2 separate regions of the Homo sapiens genome follow, and region 1 is linked to region 2. Evidence: promoter capture Hi-C in 16 types of primary human blood cells and fetal thymus (Javierre and others, 2016). All regions are on one chromosome and are shown on one strand. The core of a region is centred on a gene start or on the middle of the fragment in contact, and the rest is flanking DNA. Distances in the headings are between cores, read along the strand shown. Region 1 overlaps TDRKH (tudor and KH domain containing). Region 2 holds the start of POGZ (pogo transposable element derived with ZNF domain).

What was found. Contacts are between HindIII fragments. The CHiCAGO score rates a contact against its expected background, and 5 or more counts as called.
Region 1: a contact is called between a fragment that was not itself captured here and the fragment with the promoter of POGZ in region 2, in 3 of 17 cell types (M2 macrophages, erythroblasts and M0 macrophages). The highest score is 9.1, in M2 macrophages.

Annotation. Positions count from the first base shown.
Region 1 is chr1:151,778,012-151,783,473 of GRCh38, forward strand. It overlaps TDRKH (tudor and KH domain containing), which reads right to left. Exons shown (of 13, transcript NM_001083965.2): 2 at 4,888-5,038; 3 at 3,470-3,576; 4 at 1,940-2,129; 5 at 1,092-1,231; 6 at 674-995. The coding sequence starts at 5,011. It also overlaps the pseudogene LOC100270670. Among named protein-coding and RNA genes, the nearest start is that of TDRKH, 9.8 kb to the right of the region's middle. The HindIII fragment of the contact is 4,445 bases long and covers 1,666-5,462 here.
Region 2 is chr1:151,456,042-151,461,356 of GRCh38, forward strand. It overlaps POGZ (pogo transposable element derived with ZNF domain), which reads right to left and starts at 3,453. Exons shown (of 19, transcript NM_015100.4): 1 at 3,111-3,453. RefSeq lists silencers at 2,554-2,603, 2,794-2,843 and an enhancer at 3,674-3,723. The HindIII fragment of the contact is 6,484 bases long and covers 1-5,315 here.

The DNA.
Region 1 (5,462 bases), core at 2,638-5,137, 320 kb after region 2:
CCTAAAAGGTTGGAAATTAAAGAATATAACCTAAGAGGTTATAACAGAGCGGGCTGGTAAAACATGGCGAAAGGAGCTCTCTCTTTCCCACCCTGTCTATTTATACCTCCAAGCTCCTGTGCATTCTCACCACATAGGTCTGCTAGCTTACATAAAATGCATACAGTGAAGGCAGGAATTATAGGCCTACTCAGAGGGTACCCAGACACAGAAAGTTTGGGGTAAATAATAAACTACAAATATCCTCTTGGTTAATTCATTTTTGTTAATAAAGGTCATGTATCTATCTTTTGCTGGTAACAACTTGTCTCAATATAGTCTGTCTCAAGAAAGAAGTAGTTCAGGTTGGGTTTTGGAAAAGGAAGAAGACTTTCATCAACTTTGCTTCAGAGTGGAAGAGGCACCAAGTTCTCTCCTACAATTAGGAGCAGAATCTTATACCTGCATAAATCATTTTCAGTGATCAACATCTGCACCCTCAAACTGTCCAGCAACTGTTGGTGTGGATTCTACCTCCATCCCATCTTCAAAATATCTTACCGAATCTTCTGTCCTGACCCCAGCCATATTATACTGGCTGCTCAGACTGAGAAGGCATTCCTTCTAATCTCTCCAATATCTAAGCCAGTATTTCTATCTTCAATGATTAATGGGCTCCCTCTTTGTTACATACTTTCAAACATGGGCATCTCTGGGATGGCCTGGGCTTCAGACTTCTGAAAGCTGTCATCACTAGGTTTCTCCCAGGAACCTTCCTTTGACACTACCACAGCCATGTCGCCTCCTCCTTTGGGTGGAGGAGTCACCAGGGGTGCAGTCGGCTCCATGCTAGAACTGGTGTTTTTCCATAATGCTGGCTCTCCAGCTCCACCTGGCTCTGTCATGTCTTCTCTTCTCACACTGATTGGCTGTTTGCGTGGGACCCTGGTTTCTGCAGAATGAGCAATTCTCTTCCGAAGTTCTTCATCTTCTGAAACTTTCTCCAGTATCAAATGCTGTGGAAAACAAGAGAAAGGATGATATTCTGACCTGGGATAGAGTAAAAGGATCTTCTCATGCTCAGGTATAATTCAAGTCTATTAGCTACTTGCCTTGGCTGCTGCCACTTCCTTCTGTGTTCCTGAGATTTTTATAAGTCTTGATAGTAGTAATGTCCCTTCTGATTCTTTGTCACAGGTAATTTTGGCTCCAGATGCCTTACAGATAGAACGAATTGTCTCGCCGCCTCTCCCTACATTAAACAATATATAAAAACCTGCCCTTCCCTCCTGGCCAACCTTAGCTACTGGAGAAATCACTGTTTTGTATATACTAGGAGAAGAGAATCAGTTCTCATTTCTAAAGTGAACAAAATACAAGATGTTGAATGGAAATCAGGAGCTACTGAAATCATTACTGTGAAAAGGAGAATACCATATTCTTTCCTTTTTCCATTTTATTTAAACTCTACACTTTGGCTAACTTCATGTCATTTTCATTTTGACCACTCAGCATGGCCATATCAGGTCACAAGAAGATATGCTACATAGTGTGTCAGAACACCGGATCAAGGACAGGACATTTCTCTGCCTCTAACAGCAGCACTAAGCAATGCTCTAGGGGAAAGCATAAAAGGTACCCTCTAGAGCACTGTCTTGAAAGACTTGAGATAACATGAGCATCCCAAGCTTCCCTTTAAAAATCAATTATAAGGTAAATATAATACATCTACTAGAACCCTTAAAGAATCAATTTGTAAGGTTCAGATCATACAACTTCTTGAGGAAACAGGTTTGGTTTTACCACCAGTTCTACAAACAGTAAACCTCTGGTCTCAATGTCCCTTTTTTTCCCCTCACATGGTGAAGGGGAACTAGGCCAGAAAAAACCCTGGGAAGGTGTGAAAGAGGGGCAAAGGTAAAGAATAAAGGAAACAATAGAGGAAGCCATCCAGTGGTACCTATGATTCTGCCCACAGATCTCTGGGGAACTGAAAGCTGCTCAGACACTGGGGTATTCTCTGTCAGGATCTGATGGATTGCTGCTTTGGCCTTGCACACCTGAACAGGAAAACCACTGATAAGCAGCACTCGCTCATCGCCTACATCCTCTGTGTCCACATCAATCCGAGCACCTGTCTGTTTCCGCAGCTGCAAAGAAAAGGACATTTGGCAGTACATTCTGGAAGAGCTCCCATTTGAGCCCAGCTACAGACACTCTAAAACAAACCCTGGAGGTAGATAGAATTAGCCAAAGGAATTAGCTAATACTATCTATACAACCAGTCCTCAATTACTTTATATACAACCTCAGTTACTATCTATACAACCAGTCCTCACTTTATGGAAGGAGATTAGTAACAAATGTAACCCCAAATAGCAGTAAATTCAAACCCATTTATCTTTGTGTTTAGAATCCTTTCCCCTTACTAATTTTATTTGGATTAGAGAATCAAATATTTTGTTTTCTTGACATTCCAGCTGAACAATGGAAGATGGTAAGAAGAACCAGGTAGCCATTCAATATTTACTGTCAATTAATGAGAGTTCATTAATTCCATAGTAGAAAAGGATAATTTGACCAGGCGCGGTGGCTCACGCCTCTAATCCCAGCACTTTGGGAAGCCAAGGCGGCTGGATCACGAGGTCAGGAGATCGAGACCATCCTGGCTAACATGGTGAAACCCTGTCTCTACAAAAAATACAAAAAATTAGCTGGGAGTGGTGGCGGGCACCTGTAGTCCCAGCTACTTGGGAGGCTGAGGCAGGAGAATGATGTGAACATGGGAGGCGGAGCTTGCAGTGAGCCAAGATCATGCCACTGCATTCCAGCCTGGGTGACAGAGCCAGACTCTGTCTCAAAAAAAAAAAAAAAAAGGATAATTCAAGTTATACCATGCTGACAATCACCCAGTCAAAAACCCGTATTTCAAGCTAAGTCATCCTTTCTCTAGGGAGAAGTACTCTTCTCTAGAAGGGAAGTAGCTAAAAAGTTTAGTTAGCTAAAAAGTTCCTCTATTTGTTCTTTTAAAAATATACATAGTGGTTGGGCCCAGTGGCTCACACCTGTAATCCCAGCACTCTGGGAGGCCGAGGCAGGCGGATCACCTGAGGTCAGGAGTTCGAGATCAGCCTGGCCAACATGACGAAACCTCGTCTCCACTAAAAATACCAAAAATTCGCTGGGCGTGGTGGCGGGTGCCTGTAATCCCAGCTACTCGGGAGGCTGAGGCAGGAGAATCACTTGAACCCAGGAGGCGGATGTTGCAGTGAGCCGAGATCGTGCCATTGCACTCCAGCCTGGACAACAAGAGCGAAACTCCATCTCAAAAAAAAAAAATATATATATATATATTTTATATATACACACACACATACACACACACACAGAGCATGTGAATGTTTTGTGATATGGGGTCAGTGGAAGGAAACAAGAAATCAATAAACAGAATCAATCCTTGGGAAAGCAGACTGCCTACTCACACACTTACCTGTTTAATATTGGCTCCTTGCCGGCCAATGATGAGTTTCACAGCCTCCTGGGGAACCCGCATCTCTATCTCAATGTCATCTTCCCCAACAAATGTCAGCCGCTCTTCTGCACAGATCATTGTTCATCAGATCAGACTTAGATAACACCCAAAGCTAGTATAACTACCAGTCCTCCCCAGAATCTGGCTGTCAAAGAGACACTGATCCAAGAGATAAAGTGAGGATCTCAACCATAACAACAAGGAAAAGTGGCATCTGAATGGGAATTAGAAGGTCCCAAAGGATCAGAGATGGGCATTTTCTCTGGGACACTGTTTCAGATGCTAAAATGGGAAAAGCAGATTCTGCAATAAACAGGTGCTGGGGTTTGGGCAAACTACTTCTCCCAAGACATGACTACTGGAGAAGAATGAAGGCCAAAAGTTACCTGAGGGGTCCATTAGGCTCAGAACTTCTCCTGACTGATAGGTACATAAGTCATTTCTCTAGGTCCTATTCTCTAGATCCAGCCTTTGAGGTAAGTGCCTTCTACTAACAACTAATTAGAGAAAAGGAATATATAAAAAAGATGAGTATAGAAATTAAAAAAGAACTCTTTGCTGTGTTGATGTTGCTGAAGAAAGCACATCAATGGAGTTATAAAATGAGTTCATTTCATAGACTAGCTTACTTTGCTATGTAAGAACATAGCAAAGACTAGGCCAGGTGCAGTGGCTCATGCCTGTAATCTCAGCACTTTGGGAGGCCGAGGCAGGTGGATCACTTGAGGTCAGCCACCCTGGTGGTGAAACCCCGTCTCTACTAAAAATACAAACATTAGCCAGGAGTGGTGGCACACGCCTGTAATCCCAGCTACTAGGGTGGCTGAGGCAGGAGAACTGCTTGAACTCGGGAGGCAGAGGTTGCAGTGAGCCGAGATTGCTCCACTGCACTCCAGTGTGGGCGACAGAGTGAGACTCTGTCTCAAAGAAAAAAAAAAGACTAAATAATTTTAGTCAAAGATTCCTCACAGAAAGTCAATTAAAATACCTGGGTCAGGCATGGAGGCACATGCCTGTAATCCTAGCACTTTGGGAGGCCGAGGCAGGTGGGTTGCTTGAGCTCAGGAGTTCAAGACCAGCCTGGGCAACATGGGAAAACCCCATCTCTACAAAAAATACAGGCCTGTGGTCCCAGCTACTTGGAGGCTGAGGTGGGAGGATTGCTTGAGCCCAGGAGGTCGACACTACAGTGAGCCAAGATTGTGCCACTGTACGCCAGGCTAGGTGACAGAGTGAGACCCTGTCTCAAAAAAACCCCACAAAAAACCCCAAAACAAAACACACACAATACCTGGCAAGGAAAGAGTTTTTTTCAATTTAACAAGGCAGGAGCATGTCTGAACATTTTCACACACACAGTCATAGGGTTCACGTACCTCTGCTTTCCCTATACCTGCGGTATAGGATATAGGCAACTGTTGCACTGGCTGGGATCCCAAGGCCCAGGGCTATTTTCTGAATGGTGGACAGGCTTGTCCAAGAAGTCCGTTCAGTAGACATTTTCTGCTGTACTCTTTGACTTATATCCTGAAACAAGCAAAGCAGGGAAAAGAGGGAGGTTTCATCCAATCCTTTTATGAATAGCAGAGAGGCATGGGAGCACATTATTACTGAAAAGACTACTACTGCCTACCTTCCAATTTCAAGAGCTTCAGCAATTTCAAAATTTATTTCATATAAAAAGGGCTCAGGGTATTTTTTAAAAGTTAGCTAAGGTACACATAGAATTAAATAGAAGCATACTTCACTTTCCCCACCCAAGTCAGTTTTAAAAGACAAAAAAAATTAAATGAATCAAATATTTGAAATATATATACTTAGATTTCATATTAAATTATTTAAAATTACTTATCTAAGTCCTTTTATGCCTCCAGGGCTTTCCAGAAGCTGCTGCCTCTGCAAGAAATGCCATTCCAGGCTTAGTAAAGGCCTTACTATTTATCTTTGTTGG
Region 2 (5,315 bases), core at 2,203-4,702:
CAAATAGTAGTTTCTTAAAGGACAGTTAACATTTTGGAATCTGAAACCACATCAATCCACTTTTTTACTGTTAAAATCCATTGCTATGTCTGGAATTTTCAAAGGATCTTTTGCCTTTGCTTGATTTTGCAACATCATGCATTGGTCATTTGCAAAGCCTAGATTTACTGAGTTATGCCCATCTTCCAAATAACATATTTCATTAAACAACATTTTAAAATATTGCAGTCCTTAACCACTGATATCATAAGGAAAGTCTTTTAAGTACTAGGAAGCTGTCAAACTCCAGCTGTCAACTTTTTAAAAATTCTAATTTTCACCCAAATTTTATCACTGGTAATAAATACTGTCAGTTGTTTTCCTAAAAGTGACAAGCTCACTTCATTTTCAAGAAATATCTGCCAAATACTAAGTGTGAAAAACCATAGTCTGCTAGTCGTTCTTTCAAGTAAAAATGCTACTCCATGAAATAAGCCATTCATTCACAACCCAATCTCACAAATGCTTTTCCTTCATGACAACAATCACACCTCCCTAGGCAGCATAAATGCTTTATCCATGTTTATTTAATCACAAATTCTTAAAAATTAAAAAGACATGTAGTCAAAAGCTAAGACTTAATAATAATAGGCCGGGCACGGTGGCTCATGCCTGTAATCCCAGCACTTTGGGACGCCGAGGCAGGTGGATCGCCTGAGGTCCGGAGTTCGAGACCAGCCTGGCCAACATGGCGAAACACTGTCTCTACTAAAAATACAACCAGGGAGGAAGAGATTGCAGTGAGCCGAGATAGTGCCACTGCACTCCACCCTGGGCGACAGAGCAAAACTCCGCCTCAAAAAAATAAAAATAGAATAATAAATTTTACTGCTTCAAGGGCATTCTCAAGTAGTTTGGTGCCCCTGACTTGCTTTGTGCTAAGGTACCGCCAGTAGTTTTACCCAGCCTTGCTTTTGAACCATCAGTGTATCAGTGAAAACAATAAATAGCATCTTACTATTATTTTGAAAATAGTTATGACCTTGAGGCTACCCTGAAAGGGTAAGAGGAGATCCCCATGGGTCATCTGTCCACACTTTGAGAACTGCTTTCCTACATTATACCACTAGTTCAAGATGGGAGTGGAAACTCTAACTAAATCAGGTTCGTCCCAAGAGTCCATTCTGTTACCTCCTTTAGTTTGAGATACACCACCAACACAGCTCTGGAAAAGGGAAGGAAATCAACGGCACAAGGTGTCACTTGTTTCAACATCTTGAACACTTTTATGTTAGACCAGTAATTCTCAATGTAGTGGTTACATTAATCAGTCTCAGCCCCAGGACTGCTCATTTGAAAATGTAAAGATGACAACCCCCCTCTGCTCCATTCAAATAAATTTGGGGGATGAGGCCCCCCAAATTGTACGTTTAACCACCTTCAAGTTACTTTTTATGCACCCCGAAGTTGAGAACGATTGTGCTAACAGTTCGAATTCAGAGTTCAAGCTCTCAGACCCTGAGCAATAGTGTCTCAAAATTAATCGTTTGCCAACGAGCAGCCCTCCCTGCCCCCTCCGTTTCCCTTTCCTCTAGTTGGGTAAATGCCTACAGAAGTAAAACCCGGCCGGGCGCGGTGGCTGACGCCTGTAATCCCAGCACTTTGGGAGGCCAAGGCGGGCGGATCACCTGAGGTCAGGCGTTCAAGACCAGCCTGGCCAACATGGTGAAACCTCGTCCCTACTAAAAATACAAAAATTAGCCGGGCGTGGTAGCACATGCCTGTAATCCCAGCTACTAGGAAGGCTGAGGCAGGAGAATCACTGGAACCCGGCAGGCGGAGGTTGCAGTGAGCAGAGATCGTGCCACTGCACACCAGCCTGGGCGACAAGAGTGAAACTTCGTCTCAAAAAAAAAAAAAAAAGTAAAACCCCATTTCTGTGGAGTTTTGAGCGGCGGTAAGAGGTGTCTACGGGCTTGGAAGGACGGGCTACACCGCTTGCATCAAGACGGCGGCTGCTGTGAGATAGTCCAACTGCATCTTAGTTTCCATTTCGAAAATGAGACTGGCCACTAAATGACTCTAAGGACTCATCAGCACTACCTTTTTCTGAACTAAGAATGTCTAAGACAAGTGCTACTAGCAGTTTGAGAGAATCCCACATCTGGAGAGGAAGGAAATAAGAACAACACGCAGAAAGACGGAAAACAAATAGATCAATGACAGTACTCCTTTGCAAAAGGTGCCAAGAATCTAAATAAAATAGTCCCCGGGATAAACATGGCGCCCACCGCGGCAGGACATAATCACCAGAAAATAAAGATTCCCCGCCTCATTCCATTTTATAAATCACGGCGCCATCCCAAAAGAAATTTGGGGACCGAGGGAGGAGACTTCGTAAACTAGCTGCAGTGCACTAAGGCTTAGGATGTACTATTAGACCAAGCAGAGATTACATAACACAAGGGATCGGCTCAGCAATCACTCATTTTCCTCCTCCCGCTCAAAACGAGCGCCCCACTCCTTCTCGGAGCGGGAATGGGGCGGGGAGGGCCGCGCACCCCCACCCCCAGGGGCCGCTCCGCCGCCGCCCGCCCCTCCGCCGCACGGCCTCGCCCCCTCGCCGGCCCCTCCCGCCGCGCCCCGCCGTCTCGCCACCGCCCGCGCCCCCGCCCCCGCCCCTTCCCCAGCGGGCCACCGCCCGCGCCCGCGCCGCCCACTCCTCCGAGACGCCTCGCGCCGAGCGTGCGTGTGGACGTCGGGCTGTGTGCGGGGCCGTGGGGCGCGAGTGCGCGCGCGCGCGCCGCGGCGGGCGCCGGGGGGCGGGGGCGGCCGGCCAGCCGGCAGGCAGGGACCTCCGCCGCCGGCCCTTCGCGCGGCTCCCGCGGCCCGGGGCGCACGCACACACACTCGCGCTCGCGCGCCGCACCCCGCGGCCGCCCCTGCCGCGGGCCGCGCCGCCACTCGCGGTGGGCGGGGGCGCGCACCGCCGGCCCCCCGCCCCCACCCCCGCGCGTACCGGCCCCATCCCCCTCTCATTGTCTCGCCTCTGAACGCCTCGCCGAGCGAAAAGATAACGGAACCCCCGGGAGCAGGGGGTGGGGAGAGAGAAGGCTCGCTCGCTCACTCACCTCCTGTGGTCGTCGCCGCCGGTAGTCTGACCCGAGGAAGGCGCCGTCGCCTTAAAGGGACCTTACACCCGGCGCCAGAAGGGGGTGGGAGCAGGGGGAGGGGACGGGGGCTTGGGGGGAGACGAAGAAGAGGTAACCGTTGAAAGCTCGTCTCCCCAAGGGTGAAAGGAAGCCTCCCTCGGGTTCGAGTGATTCGGGGTGGATTTTTTTCCCGAGGGGGGCGGGGGGGCCCCGAGGGAGGGGGGTGGGGGGGCCAAGGAATGCGGCTCCGTGTACGGGAGCTGGCGCGGGGGAGAGAGACGCCGACTCCCCCCACCGACCCTCTCGCCCCGCGGAGGGATACGGCTCGTCACTTCCGCCCTCCCCTTTTTCACGGCCTCCCAATTGGTCGGAGCGCGCTGCACGTCATGGGCTCATCCAAACCCCTGCCCGGGCTTCTTTTCTAGTCAAGTTTGGCTGGGCCTGCAAATAAATAAATAAAGGAAAACATTTTTTGTAATGAAAAAAGAATAATTAGCTTCAGAAGCTATATCTAAATTTTGGTGAGAAAAATGAGACTTCCAAAGAAAATATTCCCCAATTTACTTGCCAAGAGTTTCCAAGGAAGTGTTGGGAGGCTCCCCCACTTTCCACTCAAGGCTTAGACCCAGTCAAGAGGGAGACTTCATGACACAGGCCAGGTGGTGAGGCCCAGTGGCACCAACAACTGTCATTGGAACAAAGAACAAAATGGCACTCACTCTTTCTCAAGAGACACTCGGCCAAGTAACCTTGTGGCTGCGGCCTTGTTTAAGTGAAGAACTTTTAAAAGCCATTTTGATCCTCAAGCCCTTCTGGATCCTGGAAAGAAGTGGCACACGATTGTTAAAGCGATTATTGTGATGGAAACTGCTTTGCTCCCATTGTGAGTAGATTCAGCAGAGATCCCCAGTTCCAAGAAACCACACACACTCCACATCCTTATGCTTTTTGCTCCAATCAAGGCTGAGATGGGTTGGCTCAAAGAAATTGGTTAGTCCACTCAAACGACCATCCACCTGTTTATTCTTCCCCAGACAAAAACTACCTCTTTTCAGGTAGCTAAGAAATTTTGTCCTTTATTGCCTTCTGAGATTATAAAAATGTAATATTTTCCTTGAATATTTGAAAATGTTTGCTATTTAAGCAATACACAAATATTTGCTTCAAACCAAATGTGAAATCAAGGTACTTGGTGCAGAAAGGGGAAATCCAGAACTATGTTTATTTGTGCTCTTTATATACACACTCCATTCAAACCACCAGACTGAAAATAGGCAGTGGAAGTAGGCATTCCAAATTGTATGCACCTGCCCGTGTGAGTGTGCACATGTGCATACACATACACACACTGCCACCACCCAGTTTCATTCCATTTCATACCAAAACCATGTGAGTGATTTCCACTAGTGTAGGATGCTTAGGAAGGACTTCATTATTTGAATGAGAAGAATCACTAAATCCTTCTGAAAATACTTCTGAAGACTTTCCAGACCTGATCTGGAGAAGCCCATATTAGGATTATGGGATCAATCACCAAAAGACTACATGAAACTCAAATCCTATTTTATACTGTCGTGTAATTAGTATAATTCATTATATATGTTATATTTACATTATGTATATTACGTTATTAACCTTTGAAAAATTCCAACATATTTCCCCATGCCCTGTCAATTTATTCTCCCAGCCAATGAGATCTAGCGCAGACTATGCCATATACCGTTGACCAGTAACTGTTAGCATGCTTTATTGAAAATGGATCATGCATCCATTCATTCATTCAATGAATATTTATTGGGGGCTGGGCATGGTGGCTAACACCTGTAATCCCAACACTTTGGAAGGCCAAGGGAGGAGGATCACAGCAGTCTGAGGGCAGCCTGGGCAACTTAGCAACATCCCATCTCTACAAAAAAAAATTTTTTTTTTTTAAACAGAGTCTCGCTCTCTCCCCCAGGCTGGAGTGAAGTGGCGCGATCTCGGCTCACTGCAACCTCCGCCTGCTGGGTGCAATTCTCCTGCCTCAGCCTCCTGAGTAGCTGGGACTACAGGCGTGCGCCACGATGCCTGGCTAATTTTTTCTGTTTTTAGTAGAGACGGGGTTTCACCAAGCAGGCTGGTCTCGAACTCCTGACCTCGTGATCTGCCCGCCTCCGCCTCCCAAAGCGCTGGGATTACAGGCGT